2 separate regions of the Homo sapiens genome follow, and region 1 is linked to region 2. The links are contacts of gene promoters, found by promoter capture Hi-C in blood cells and fetal thymus (Javierre and others, 2016). All regions are on one chromosome and are shown on one strand. Each heading gives the region's core, a stretch centred on a gene start or on the middle of the fragment in contact. The rest is flanking DNA. Distances are from core to core; before and after follow the strand shown. Region 1 overlaps LINC02577 (long intergenic non-protein coding RNA 2577). Region 2 holds the start of SLC26A4 (solute carrier family 26 member 4).

Region 1 (6,259 bases), core at 1,167-3,666, 870 kb after region 2:
TTCATGGAAGAGAGTTTGAACGGAGGCTTCAGCTGGTTTTATTAACTGTGGCAAAGAGGAGGTGGCATTCCAGGAGCAAGGAATGATGGTCAAAGGCAATGAAGTGCACAGGGCATCAATGGCTCTAGCATAGAGAAGAGAGAACTGCCCCAAAGTCTCTCACAGACGTGCACTCCAGGCCAACCAGATGATGTCTCTTGCCTTCTCCAGGGCCATTCTGCAGCCTCTCAGGCCTCCCTTCCATGTGCAAGCAGGGTGACACTGGAGAGGAATTGAACCATGGAAAGTTAGTTTTGCTCTGTGCTCACTTGTCACTGAGTGAGCTAAGCTGGCCGGCTTTTTGCCTTCTGTCAAGTCAGCTGCTCTCTGAATTCAAGCAGAAGTATGAGAAACTGGTTACCACTCAGGCTTGAATTTTGCTGTTCTCACTTCTTGAGAGAGCCACAAGCTGACTCTATTTCCAAATGGCAAACAGCCCTCTCAAGGCTACCCTCACCTTAGAGCAGGACCGCACAGCACAGAAAGGCCAGCGCTTAGCACACCAGGCATATGGAGCAGCTCAGGTGCCTCCGGGTGAGAAAGCGGCACACAGCAGGAGGAGATCAGATGTTACTAAGCAGCACGAGGTCTGGGCCAACTGTTGCATCCTTCCTTACTTGGCCACCTGGAAGCTGTCAATCAACTGAACAACAAGCATCTAATGGCTGACAGTACTTGGAGCCAGTGCAATCAGCCTCAACCCCTTTGTTTATTTCCACTTGATGTTATTTGATGAAATGTCTCTTTGGATGAGAGCCTGGTATTCATTTCCCCAGGAAGTCTGGGGTCTGGGCTCACCACTCCACAACCCCCAGCCCTGCCCCACCCTCCAACTCTATCAAAGACTACCACTGCCTCCCTTCTGGCCTTCTCCCAGCATGGTGTAGCAGAGATCATGATTAACTGGAACAAAGTAAGACACAGGCATGGCATAATGAACGTGGTGATGCCAGATGCCCCTCCTAGGAAGGACTTGTTCTAGCTCTGGGAGTGCTGTCAGCAGACAGTTGTCAGGTACCAACCCTTCAGGTCCACCTCAGTTGCAGAGAGCTGCCTTCCCCAAGGCCATTCCCTCCTGTGAGGCCCATATCCAGTGACTGATGGAGACAGGTGTAGAAAAGCCTGGCTCTTTGGCCCAGTGCTGGCCAATCCTTCCACCCTCCCCTTCTCTCCATAGGTACTAATCCTAAGGGCACTTCCTAGCAAACACCTACAACCTGAGTTCCCAGAGAACCCACCTTGCTAAACATGAGTTTGAATTTCATCTTAATGGCTCCTGAGGCCTGTGGCTTTGGGGAGACAATCACTTATTTTTTGTAAGGCTTAATGTCTTCATCCAATAAATGGGAATAATAGTAACTTCATAGGATTATTGTGTATGCGGAGTAATCCCTCATAAATATTAGATATCATAATCTTGGGCAAGTTTATGGCTTCTGGGAGCCTTGGATCCTTTATGCAAAAATGAGAACAATACTACTTACATCTCAGGATTTTGGTTAGACTTGTATGACATAATGTATGTCTTGTTACATGCGCAATAGATAAGAGCCCCCGCCCCCCACCATTTTCCCTTTAAAATACCCACGGAACCTTTATATAGTGAATTAAAAAAATAAGTTGTGTTTATTTTCTTTTTCTGTATTGCTTGCCCTTCATCAGTGTATAGGACATTTGTATTTGGAGGAGAAAAACTGAATGCAGAACAGAAAGGCAGGAGCTAGGGTGGAACCCTGGATTTGTGGCTCTGTTCTCTTTCGTCACAGCTCAATGGCCAGCTCCTCCGGGAAGCTCACCCTGACTAACTCAGTGCATTCTGCAAATTATTCATGCAACCATTGATGACCATCTCTTTTTCCTTGATTCACTTTTTTAGTTCTTATAATAATATATTTTCATGAATTACAGGATTTCTATGTTCTTATTGTAAGCCTCTGAGAAGCAGAGACGGTGTCTGTTTTTTAAGAGAGTATGCCTGGTGGAATACTACCATTTTCCCTGGGAGTGTTCATTTGTTACTGTGCTAGTTACCAGCAACGAACTCTTCCAACAGTGCTGAGTCCTCCTGCAGCCCCGAGATGCTCCAGGAATTCCCGCTGAATTGACAAGAAATCTGAGAGCCAGATGGGGCCTTCTGAGGCCCCCCAGTCCAACTCTGATCATCTTACCTTTCTGGAAACTTATTTTTGGTCATCTCCTTCCCTCATTTAAAGGCTCATGTGAAAATTTTTGCAAACCCATCTTTATTGTATCTTCTGTATTTTATAATTTGATAACTCTCAATTTTTAAAAAAGCTTGGTCAGTTCTAGGAACATTGTCTTACACTGACACCTGCTGGGCAGGTGGAAAAATAACAGGTACCTGTAACACTAGTGTCTTTTAGGACTAGAAGCAGAGAAACTCCATTCATCTTTCTTTAATAAGCATCTTTCTTACAACTATCCTAATTTTAAGCTTTCCTTTCCCTCTTCTCCCACTAAACCTAAAGTCTGGATTTTATATTTCTTGATGACTCTATTGCTAAAAGCCTATAGCACCATTAAACAACATCATTTCATAGATAACACTTAATGCTTAATGATGAACAATAATCCCGCTCATTACCTGTGACCTTGGTTCTGCAAGCACTATACCTCCAAACAACTGAGCTGTCGAGTGGGCCCCATGAAAAGTAGGTGGCCATTTTTAACCCTGGATTCACCCAGTTGGCCGGAACTGTGAGGCCATCTGATCTGGATCAGAGTGTCTCGGTGATGGAAGGAAGAGTCATTCAGTGTGAATGTCAGAGTTCTTATTTTGAAAGTTTTTCCAGGGATCACGACCCCAGTAAAAATTTATTTAAGTGTTTCATCATCCTAATGAGACTTTGTTATAAACCATGTCTCTCTCTCTCTGCTTTTATTTAAACACTTTTTTTTTCTGTCCAAACAAATTCCAGCTCTAATAGTCCTTTTATTCCAGGAAAGGATGGACAAACAAGTAAATAAAGTATATGATTTGTCAAATGATCATAAATGCTAAGTTTTACAAAAGGGCAGGAAGGAAGATAAGGATTGCGTGTGTGTGTTTGGGGAGGTGGTTGCTTACTGCTTATAGAGCCGTGTGGGGGATAAGGGCTGACCCAGGAGCCTTGGGTTTCTTGTGGTGACATAAACAAGGTTAGAAAGTATGCCGAGGCTGAGGCAGGAGGATCACTTGAGCCCAGGAGGTGGAGGTTGCAGTGAGCCAAGATCGTGCTATTACATTCCAGCCTGGGTGACAGAGACTCTGTTTCAAAACCAAAAAAAAAGTATGCTGAGGTTTAGAAAAGACTAATCAATATCCTATTTATTATAAAAACTTTATGATATTTTAATTTATTATCATAAAAACTTTACCAGATATACCAGTAGGCTATATTCTAATTATCCCCCTTACCAATCCCTTTCACTGTACTTTTTTGGGGTTTATTTAATAACTTAATCATTAAAAGTACTTTCTAGTTGGGTCCATACTTTTTTCCTGCAAGTGTTGATTTAGAGAGGAAGACAGGACCCAGGGTCTGAGCCTGTGGCATTTGTTAGCACTGCATGGGAACTAATTGATCCTCGGGGTCATCTGGAACTTGGAGAAGGAGGCACTGAAGAATTCAGTCGGGGTCACAGAGGAAGGGGCCTGATGCCTGGGATGGATGGGCCAGGCAGACTCAGTGAGAGGAAGGGAGGTGGATTTTGGATCTGGGTAAACTTCAGGTTTGAAAAGTGGCTCTCCTCCTTACTAACTGTGGATCTTGGGCAGTTACTTATCTCCTCTTTGCCTCAGTTTCTTCATCTGTATATGGGGATAACAATTCCATCTTGAATAGTGCTTGTTGACACGGTGCTTGGCACATAGTAGGTGTGAAGTTATTTCTATTCCCTGTTTCAGAAGGAACGCTATTTTGCTTATGTCTGGCCCTGTGTCTGCTCTGAACACCCCACTGCTAATTGTTCTTTCACTTGATCCATGCCGGTTCTGAAAATCTTTAGAATTCAAGCCTTCCCTTTTTCAAGTGTTCTGGCTGCCACAAATGATGGCTCTTCTCTTAAACTTCTCCGACATCCTTTCATCCTGGCATTTTCAGACTTCAAAAAACGGTCTTAGAGATTTATTGATTTAACAAATGTTTATTAAGCTCTTACAAAGTGCTAACACTGAAGATAGAAGAGTGAACAAAACAAACTAAAATTCCTGCTCTCAAAGACCTTTTATTCTGGGAGAGGATGGAAAAACAAGTAAATAGAGCTTATGAATTATCAAATAATCATAAATGCTAAGTAAAAAAAAAAAAAAAACAAAATGCAGTGCAGGAGGGGTAATTAGGATCGTGTGTGTGTGTTTGAGGAGGTGGTTGTTTGCTCTCATAGAGCCGTGTGGGGTCTGAGGGCTGACCTGGGAGTCCTGGGCTTCTTGTGTTGACATAAACAAGGTTAGGGAGCATGCTGAGGTTGATCTTGGTGGTCTCAAGGAGGATAGTGGTGTGGAGTGTGAAGGCTGGGGATTGGTAGGTTGGGCTCCAGTCAGGAGCATACAGAGTCCCCTCTTCATTCCTGCCAAAGGTGTCCTGGAGGAGAACATGGGGAGGGGCCTCCTGATTACACCTGGACCACAGAGAGTTGGTGGGCTCCCCTCTCATTTGCTTCCTTCAGTTCCTGATGACAAGACAGGCTGTGGGGACTTGGTAAATGTTGACTTCTTAAGACTCAGGCCCTGACAAGTGCATTGTCCTGCCCGGCTCTTGGCACATTGCATACCCTTCTGAGTCTCTATTTCTCCCTCATCTCTAGGAGGAGGAGGAGGCTGGCCTCTTATATCGATTTCTGCTAAAAACAAATTCTGTGATGTTAAGAAGTTTCAATTGTATCTCCATTGTTGGAGTTTTGAACAGAAAATAGAGAATTTTAGGGTCTAGATAGAATTTTTGGTTTATTTTTTCTTTCCAGTTGGCTTTGGAAGAAAAGGATGCAGGAAAGGAAGACTTGGCTTCTGTTGCTGGTTTAGAGGAGTGAGATTAGGTTTCCTGGATAATAGCCAAACCTACCAGAATAGGGGGATTGGATCTTTCAAAGACTGGGAAGAATTTGTTTGGCAGGAGATTTGCTGACTTGATCAAGAGGGATTTTCCACTCAAATTTTCTGGGAAAGGGAGAAGAAAATCCTGGTAAAATCAACTTAAATGCTCCCTTTGTGGATATTCATGACCCTCAGGGCTGAATTAGTTGCTCCTGTCAGTTTCCACAGAAAGGTGGGAAGAAAGATGGAGCCAAGGGATAGGATAAAGGCCAGTGATCTCCTGCAGGAGCAGCAGTGCGTGTATGATGAACATTTAATAAGTGTGCAATGAATTAACAAATAAAGAATGAAAGACAATAAGACAAACTGTATTAGGTCTCGCTATAAGGGAATACACGACACTGGGTAATTTATAAAGAAAAGCGATTTAACTGGCTCCGAGTTCTGCAGGCTGTACAGGAAGCATGACGCCAGTATCTGCTTGGCTTCTGTGGAAGCCTCAGGGAGCTTTTACTCATGGCCAAAGGCAAAGTGGGAGGAGGCATGTCACATGGCAAAGCAGGAAGAAGAGAGGTGCTACATACTTAACAACATTTTCAGTTATTTATTTATTATTTTTGAGATGGGGTCTCACTGTTGCCCAGACTGCAGTGCAGTGGCTTGATCATGGCTCACTGCAGCCTTGACAACCCCCTCCTCCTCCCCGCCCTGGGCTCAGGTGATCCCCCAACCTTAGCTTGCCAGGTAGCTGGGACTACAGGCATGCACCACCATGGCAGGCTAATTTTTTATATAGCTGGGGTTTGCCGTGTTGCCCAGGCTGGTCTCAAACTCCTGGGCTCAAATGATCCAACTGCCTCAGCCTCCCAAAGTGCTGGGATTGCTTGTGCGAGCCACTGTGCCCGACCTGGGTGCTACGCACTTTTAAACTACTACTCACTATTGCAGGGGCAGCACTAAGCCATGAGGGATCCACCCTGATGATCCAGTCTCCTGCCACCAGGTCCCACCTCCAACATGGGCAATTACAATGCAACATCAGATTTGGTGGGGATACAGATCCAAATTGTATCACAAACCAACAGGTAAGAAGAAATGGGGAGGTACAGGAAAACTGGCCTTAGCTTTGTGTTAATCCCAGACAAATTTCAAGAATGGACTATTAAATGTGGTTTATGATTACTTAGA
Region 2 (6,919 bases), core at 848-3,347:
TCTTTAAAGAAGATAAACACACTGAGTATATTTTGGCAATACAAGCCTGGAGCTAGTTTTTACAAAAATCTTAGCATGAGGAATGTATACCTTATACCTTGCTACTTGGTAGTTTTTAAATTCAGTGACCTACAGATGAAAGAAAAATATCAAAAGTAGGTGGTATAACTCCTGATTTGAATAAATTGTTTTTTAATTAAGGCATTTATGGGACGATTGGACATTTTAATAATGACTCAATTTTTGATATTAGGAGGTTATTTTTAGATATTAAGGTGTGATCATGAAATGTGGTTATATTTTTTAAGAGTCTTTAAAGATATGCAGTAAAATACATAAAGACAGTATGCTATATGAGATTTGCTTAAAAATAATACTGGAGGGAGCAAGTAGGTGTAGATACAAGAAACAAGAGTAACTTGGATTTGATCACAGTTGAGGCCGAGTGATGGGTTAAAAACGGTGGGGGTGGGGAGTTCATTATACTACTACGTCTACTTATGCATATATTTGAAATGTTCTATAATGAAAGGTTTTAGAAACTCTAATTTCTTTATGTTTGTGACATCTAGTTACGGCATGTTTGGGTTTAGAGACTGAGGGTGGCTTTCCCCAGGGGTCCCACAGCCTGCTGATGAAGTACTTGGCACACCCCGCGCTCCCCTGGGTTCTAGCTTGCATCCTGGTCTCTAACTGAATGGTAGCCCGCCTACTTAGCTTGAGTGTTTCAAGGACTCCTCCTGGTCAAGAGCTGGGTTTCCCTATTCATTTCATTTAAACAAGCTCCCAAGAAGGCAACAGGGACCCACTGTACCCCAAGAGGCACTCCAAGTTTCCTTCAGAGAGGAAAAAGAGAGACGGGGCTCCTAGAACCCACTCTCCCCAAAGGCGAGTTTCCCAGGTAAGTTCATTTCGGGCCCGAGACTGATGGAGCCACCCTCCCACCAGAAGGGCGGCGTGGAGGACCGGAGACCGAAAGTCGGGCCTCTGGGAGAAGCAGCTGGCGCCCAGGGGCTCCGCCGCCCGCACCCCACTCTCGCCCGCTGGGGACGCCCTTCCCTCCCCAAGGCGTGGACGCCCCGCTCCGCTTCTCTCTACGCAGGCCCGCGCGGCCGCTACCTGCAGCACTTGGCCAGGCTCTCCCGCAGCGTCTTGCGCTCCTGCAGGCGCCGCTCGTGCTGTTGCTGGAAAGCGAGCTCGCTGTAGACCGGCCGCGACACCATGTAGCTGCAGCTGTACTCGGGGAGCTGCGGCGGCTCCGACCTGCCGCCTGGCGCTGCCATGACCTGCGAGCCAGAGGACAGCGAGGAGGGAGGACACGCGGTAAGCGAGGACGATCGGAGGGGAAGAGCGAGGAACAGAAAGAACGGGATCACCTGTTAGCTGCAGCCAGGCCCCCCTGCACCGCGAGTCTGGTCCGCGTCCTGCAGCCCTCGGCGCTCGCGACAAGCGCCCCACGGCGCGCACGGCCAGCCTGCAGGGGGGCACCTGAGAACCTTCGGGTCTCGTGGCCTGCACCCGCTGCCCGGGGTTCCCCAAACTTGAAGCGAGTAAGCCCCTGCTCTGGGGGCTTCCCGAGTTCCACCCAGTCCCCTATGGCCCGCAGCCAGGGCGCTGTCCGCGTTCTGAAATCTCCCCCAAACCGAGGGGCTGGGGCAGGGGCCAAAGGCGCTTGCAAGGCTGGAAGGGGACACTGAGATTCCCTCCCTCCCCGCACCTGACCCGGGACGCAGCTCCAGGTGCGCACTGGAGGAGAGGTGCAGACCCCCGGGCCAGGCGTGGAACCGTCAGGGCGCGCTCCGCGGGTCCCCAAGAGGCGGACGCTGCAGGCACATTCCAGCAGCTGTCGCAGCCCTCTCGGGGGCAGAACTTTCAGCTTATTGAGCAAGTCTCTCCCCTCGTCCTGTTTTCCGAGCAGCCTGTTCGCTCTCGGCGTCTCAGAAAGAAAGCTGTACTGCCCCCTGCCCACCTGATCCGTGACCACTTAAGAGTCCCATCCGCAACCCTCGAGGCCTCCCCGGGAGTGGAGCCCGGGCCGGGCGGTGTGGGCATCTTCAGGGCGAACTCACCTGTCTCTGCTCGCGCCCCGCCCGGAATGCCCCGCGGACTACCCTTCCGCTGCCTTTATAGCGCTCTCAGAAGGCAGTGGGACGTTTTATTTACGGAGCAACAGACACCTTGGTCGAAGGGAAAGACACACACAGGCTGCGGTCTTTCCCAACCGATCCTATCAGGAAAGAAATCCTACCCCTCCTGCATTCTTCCCCTTTCCCGAACCGGGAAGGCTGAGACTCTTACTGGCTGCCACGCAGGGGCCACCCGGATCCTCACTCATCCCGTTACTAATCTCAAGGGTTGCGAGGTCAGGGGCGGGCCAGGCCCTGTGGGACTCCTTAAAGAAGAGCAGAGCCCGCCTAGAGGAAGAGGTCCGTGGTCTCTGGGAGCCTGCCACAGGTGCTCTCATACCACATGGGGAGGAGAAGAGGAACAATGGCCAGGTTTCTATATTAATAAGTCCTTGAATTTCTAGAAAGTCTTTTAGGAGTATTCAATGGGTGGAGGATACAGAGAGTTCACGATTTACTCAGATTTTAGCCACTTATTCTACGTGTGCATGTGTGTGTGTTTTATTTCACAATCCAAATCAAGCCGTCCAGGTGGCCCTTTCTTACCCACTAGACTCTGTTTTTTCTTTTTCTCATTCTCCTGGACAATCAGGGAAGGAATAAACTGGACTACATGGAAATCAAGACTAGAAGAGAGGGAGGAGGAGCTGGAGCTATCCTACCTCATCAGTGTTTTGTCTTCTGTTGGGATGAACTTTGTTAAAACTAATGCATGGTTAAGATGAAAGGCAGAAGGAAGGGTTTGATAAACCAGAACATTCTCGCCTGATTGTTAGTGTTCTGAAGTAAATACAGAAGAGGCTCCAAAATACAGACCTCTGTACATCAACCTTCCGTAATCCACCTGCCTTGCATATGCAGACCATGACAATTCTACGAGCTCCTGGAAACAGAACTCAGAACTCCTCCCCAGAGAACCCTGATGCAAATTCTCTGAAATGGTAGTCAGCATGTGCGTTTTCCTGAGAAGTGAATGAGTCAACAGCTTTCAACAGATCTTCAAAGGCTTACTTCACCCAATGAAGTTAAGAACCACTAAAGAAGAAACCTAAAAGGAAAATCCAGGTCATGAACTTTGCAATTTTTATTCACATACAGAGAAGAGGGGAGGAATCTCTTGTGTATGTTTTACTTATGTATACCACTGGTTCTTAATAAAGGGCTTTTTTTGCCTCCAGAGGTCAATGCCTGGAGACATTTTTGGTTGTCACACCTAGGGAGATGCTATTGGGATCTAGTGAGTAGAGACCAGAGATGCTGCTAAACATCCTACAATGAAGTTTGCTATCACTCCAAGGTTTTGCATGCGACTTAAACTGTACATTTATTAATCAATTGCTACATGTACTAAAATATGTATCTCTCTCCATATATGTATATATGCGTGTATTTTTTCATTATTGTTGGATGTATAGCTCAACTCCACTACAACAGAGGAAAGTATTTGTTTTAAAGTAGAATCTGAATATACTCACTCTGTATACCCTCATCCATACCTTCAAGATCTGGTGAAAACACTATCTCTTGCAAGAACATTCTTTGATGCTGTTCAGAATTAATCCAGACCCTTTTCTGTATTCTCTTAATACCTTATCTGATCCTCTCTTAAGTTACTTCTCACTATCTACCTTAGTAACACAATTTTATTTACATACAAGTTCTCTCTCCCTCACTAGACAAAAACTTCTTGAGGGCAAGCACTGTGTCTCCTTTCAACCATTATTATCTTCTCTCATGTTTTTTGAACAGATTTATCTATAGCCCAAACATACCTTTTCAAAAAACTAAAAATTACTTTACATATTTGATCTAAGGCTTTGTTTTTCTCCATTAAGAGCATGCTGTGGATATCTTTGCAAGTGAGTGCATAAGGATTTTTCTTAACCTTGGAGATGGCTGTCTAGGATTTCAGAATATCAACTCATATTTGTAGCTCCATGGCAACTCACCTACACAACTCACAACTCTTTATTGAAGGCATTCTGTACCAATATAAATATAGTCCATATCCCATTCTAATATGGATTTCTGCTCCTTGTTGCTTGCTATTTTGAACACTTTTAGTCTGGTCCAGTCAGGCCTATAAACCACTTTGCATCAGAACTTGGCAATGGTTTGCTGGTTCAGAGGATTAAGGAGTGGGGTAAGGCTGGCAGAAGGACAGAAGAGAAAAGACTTGAGTAACAACAGGAGGCAAAAGAGTAACTTAGCTTGGCTAATAGAATTCTTATTTGAAATGCATCTCTCTATATAAGAGTTTGGTTCAATAATCACAATATAATAAGTCCTGCATGTATCTGGATGAAGATAATTGCTTTTTTCTGTTCAATGCTTTTCCATAGCAGAAATAGCTGGGGCAGAACAAAATGGTATCTCTGTTACAGGATTCTATAAGGGTATAGAACTGCTTTTCTCATAGGTAAAAGGCAGACCGTTTGAATTTGGCTTTTTAAAAACAGAAGAGTAGGAGGAAATAACAGCTTGCTCTCTCCACCCTATTTAATTGTGATATTAAACACCTTAGATTACTCACTTGGGCTTTATAAGGCAACCTTCTCCTGTTTCACACAGAGGTGGGTGGTTCTTATTTATCAGACTTTTAAAATATTCAGGACTTCTTTCCAAAGAAATAGATGCATCACTTAAAAATAAATATCAGACAATATTATTGATACTTTACAGTACTTATTTAGCAGTTAATACTTTTTTAAAAGGCATTTTCTTATTTATCATTTAGGCATTTGCAGTGTAAGACAAACTCCCTTGTTTGATTACGCATTCACCTGTTCATTCATTCATTCATTCAAGGATTTATTAGGAAATTATTTGTGCTGGCTGTGGGTACAATGATGAACAAAAGCTTATACCCTGGCCTCATATTTATGGGTGCAGTAGACACTAATCAAATGGTCACAAAATGTGTATCTTATTTCACTGATTATAAAATACAGATTTTTCACATTTTATCAGGGTTCATGTTATAATTGATGATCTACTATATATTATAGTTTAATTGATAGCGTATTTTGTGATTCATAAAATGAGTTTTATAATAGAATTCTATAATTAATAAAATATAGATATTTACATAAATTTATAGTGTATCTATGCCTTTTTTTTCTTTTTTAGAGATGGGATCTTGCTATTTTGCCCAGGCTGGACTTGAACTCCCAGTCTCCAGAATAGCTGGGACTATAGGTGCACACCACCACACCTGACAGAGTATCTATGCTTTTGAGTGACTACGTGTGCTACAAGAATGATTTAATTGAATCCTTCGTTTATTTAACTTAAGAGCAGTCAATCTTGCTACATTATTTTTGTCTGAGAGCGAATATTGTGGTATAAATTTTTTCTTTTTTTTTTTTTTTTTACAATTTAAAATGTTCTCAAATCAGAAGAATTGCAAAAGAATGCAAACATGTTGGCTGGGCGCTGTGGCTCACAGTGTAATCCCAACACTTTGAGAAGCTGAGGCGGGAGGATCACTTGAGCCAGGCCTAATCCTGAGCTTTTATTTCATTATGCGTGTTAATTTTCTCAAGATAGCAAATGCTAAATTTTTGTCATACTTATACAAAAAGAGAACTGAACTGAACTTTCTTTCTATATTTCTGATCTCTTCTTCTCTGAGCAACTTATTGGGCTTATTCTCAGTAATCATACAGTTTTGCACTCAATTGTTTTCTTGGTTTTTTGTTGTTATTTTTATCTTGCACTCAATTGTTTTCTATTTGTTTACTGTATGCTACTTTATTTTCTTCTCCAGTTATAAGATATGCTCCCTAGGGACATAAATAGTATATGTCTTTTATGGTGTTACAAAAATAAGATGTGCCTGTAGTAAATAATTTGGAAACTACATTAATGTATAATATAGTAATCACATTTTATCTCATTATCCAGATAATCACTGTTTTGCTTCTTTTTTTATTTATTCTTTCTATGCAGACATAGGTATACATTTTTATTAAAGTAAAATTATAATGCTAGTCTCTTTATTTCCCTACACAATACCTTGACAAATTATGACAATATAATAGGTACCAGACTTGTTAAATTATTGATCAATTGATTGTTTAACAATGGAATTTTGAGAAATATTTGGGTAGAAAAAAAACTAGTTTTAAAAGAAGAGAATCCAACCATTAAAACATCAAAAAATGAAATTATTTGTAAATATTATGTGGCAATCCATTCAATTTTAAACAACTTACAGTGTCAATAAAACTATAACTCAATAAATTTCTCAGGCAGAGCCCATCTGCCTCTTCTTTAATATGAATGCAAACTTGATATGTGGTTTAGTAAATTGCTAGAACGAAATGATGGCATAGTTTTGGGTTTTGAGGGGTTTTCTGTGTGTGTGTGTGTGTGTGTGTGTTTGTTTGTTTGTTTTAAACAGGGTCTGGCTCTGTCACCCAGGTTGAAGTGCAGTGACACTATCTCAGCTCACTGCAACCTTCACCTCCAAAGCTCAAGCCATTCTCCACCTCAGCCTCCCAAGTAGTTGAGACTATAGGCATGTGCCACCACACCCGGCTAATTTTTGTATTTTTTGTAGAGACAGGGTTTTGCCATCTTGCTCAGGCTGGTCTCAAACTCCTGTGCTCAAGAGATCCACCTGCTTCATCCTCCCAGGGTGCTGGGATTACATGTGTGAGCCACCACACCCAGGTGGGTTTCTTTTAATGTTTGTTTTAATGATGATTTTTTTTTTTCAAGAGATGGGGTCTCGCTTTGTTACCCAGGCTGGTCTCAAACTCCTGGGCTCAAATAATCCTACCACCTCA

Evidence for each region. Contacts are between HindIII fragments. The CHiCAGO score rates a contact against its expected background, and 5 or more counts as called.
Region 1: a fragment that was not itself captured here is called in contact with the fragment with the promoter of SLC26A4 in region 2 in 1 of 17 cell types (fetal thymus); the score reaches 5.5 in fetal thymus.

What each region holds. Positions count from the first base shown.
Region 1 is chr7:106,789,328-106,795,586 of GRCh38, reverse strand. The region is part of intron 1 of LINC02577 (long intergenic non-protein coding RNA 2577); the gene reads right to left. Among named protein-coding and RNA genes, the nearest start is that of LINC02577, 17 kb to the right of the region's middle. The HindIII fragment of the contact is 160 bases long and covers 2,337-2,496 here.
Region 2 is chr7:107,656,006-107,662,924 of GRCh38, reverse strand. It overlaps SLC26A4 (solute carrier family 26 member 4), which reads right to left and starts at 2,097. Exons shown (of 21, transcript NM_000441.2): 1 at 2,070-2,097; 2 at 1,120-1,286. The coding sequence starts at 1,283. SLC26A4-AS1 (SLC26A4 antisense RNA 1) reads left to right here and starts at 1,127. Exons shown (of 2, transcript NR_028137.1): 1 at 1,127-1,323; 2 at 2,719-6,409. The HindIII fragment of the contact is 14,838 bases long and covers 1-4,988 here.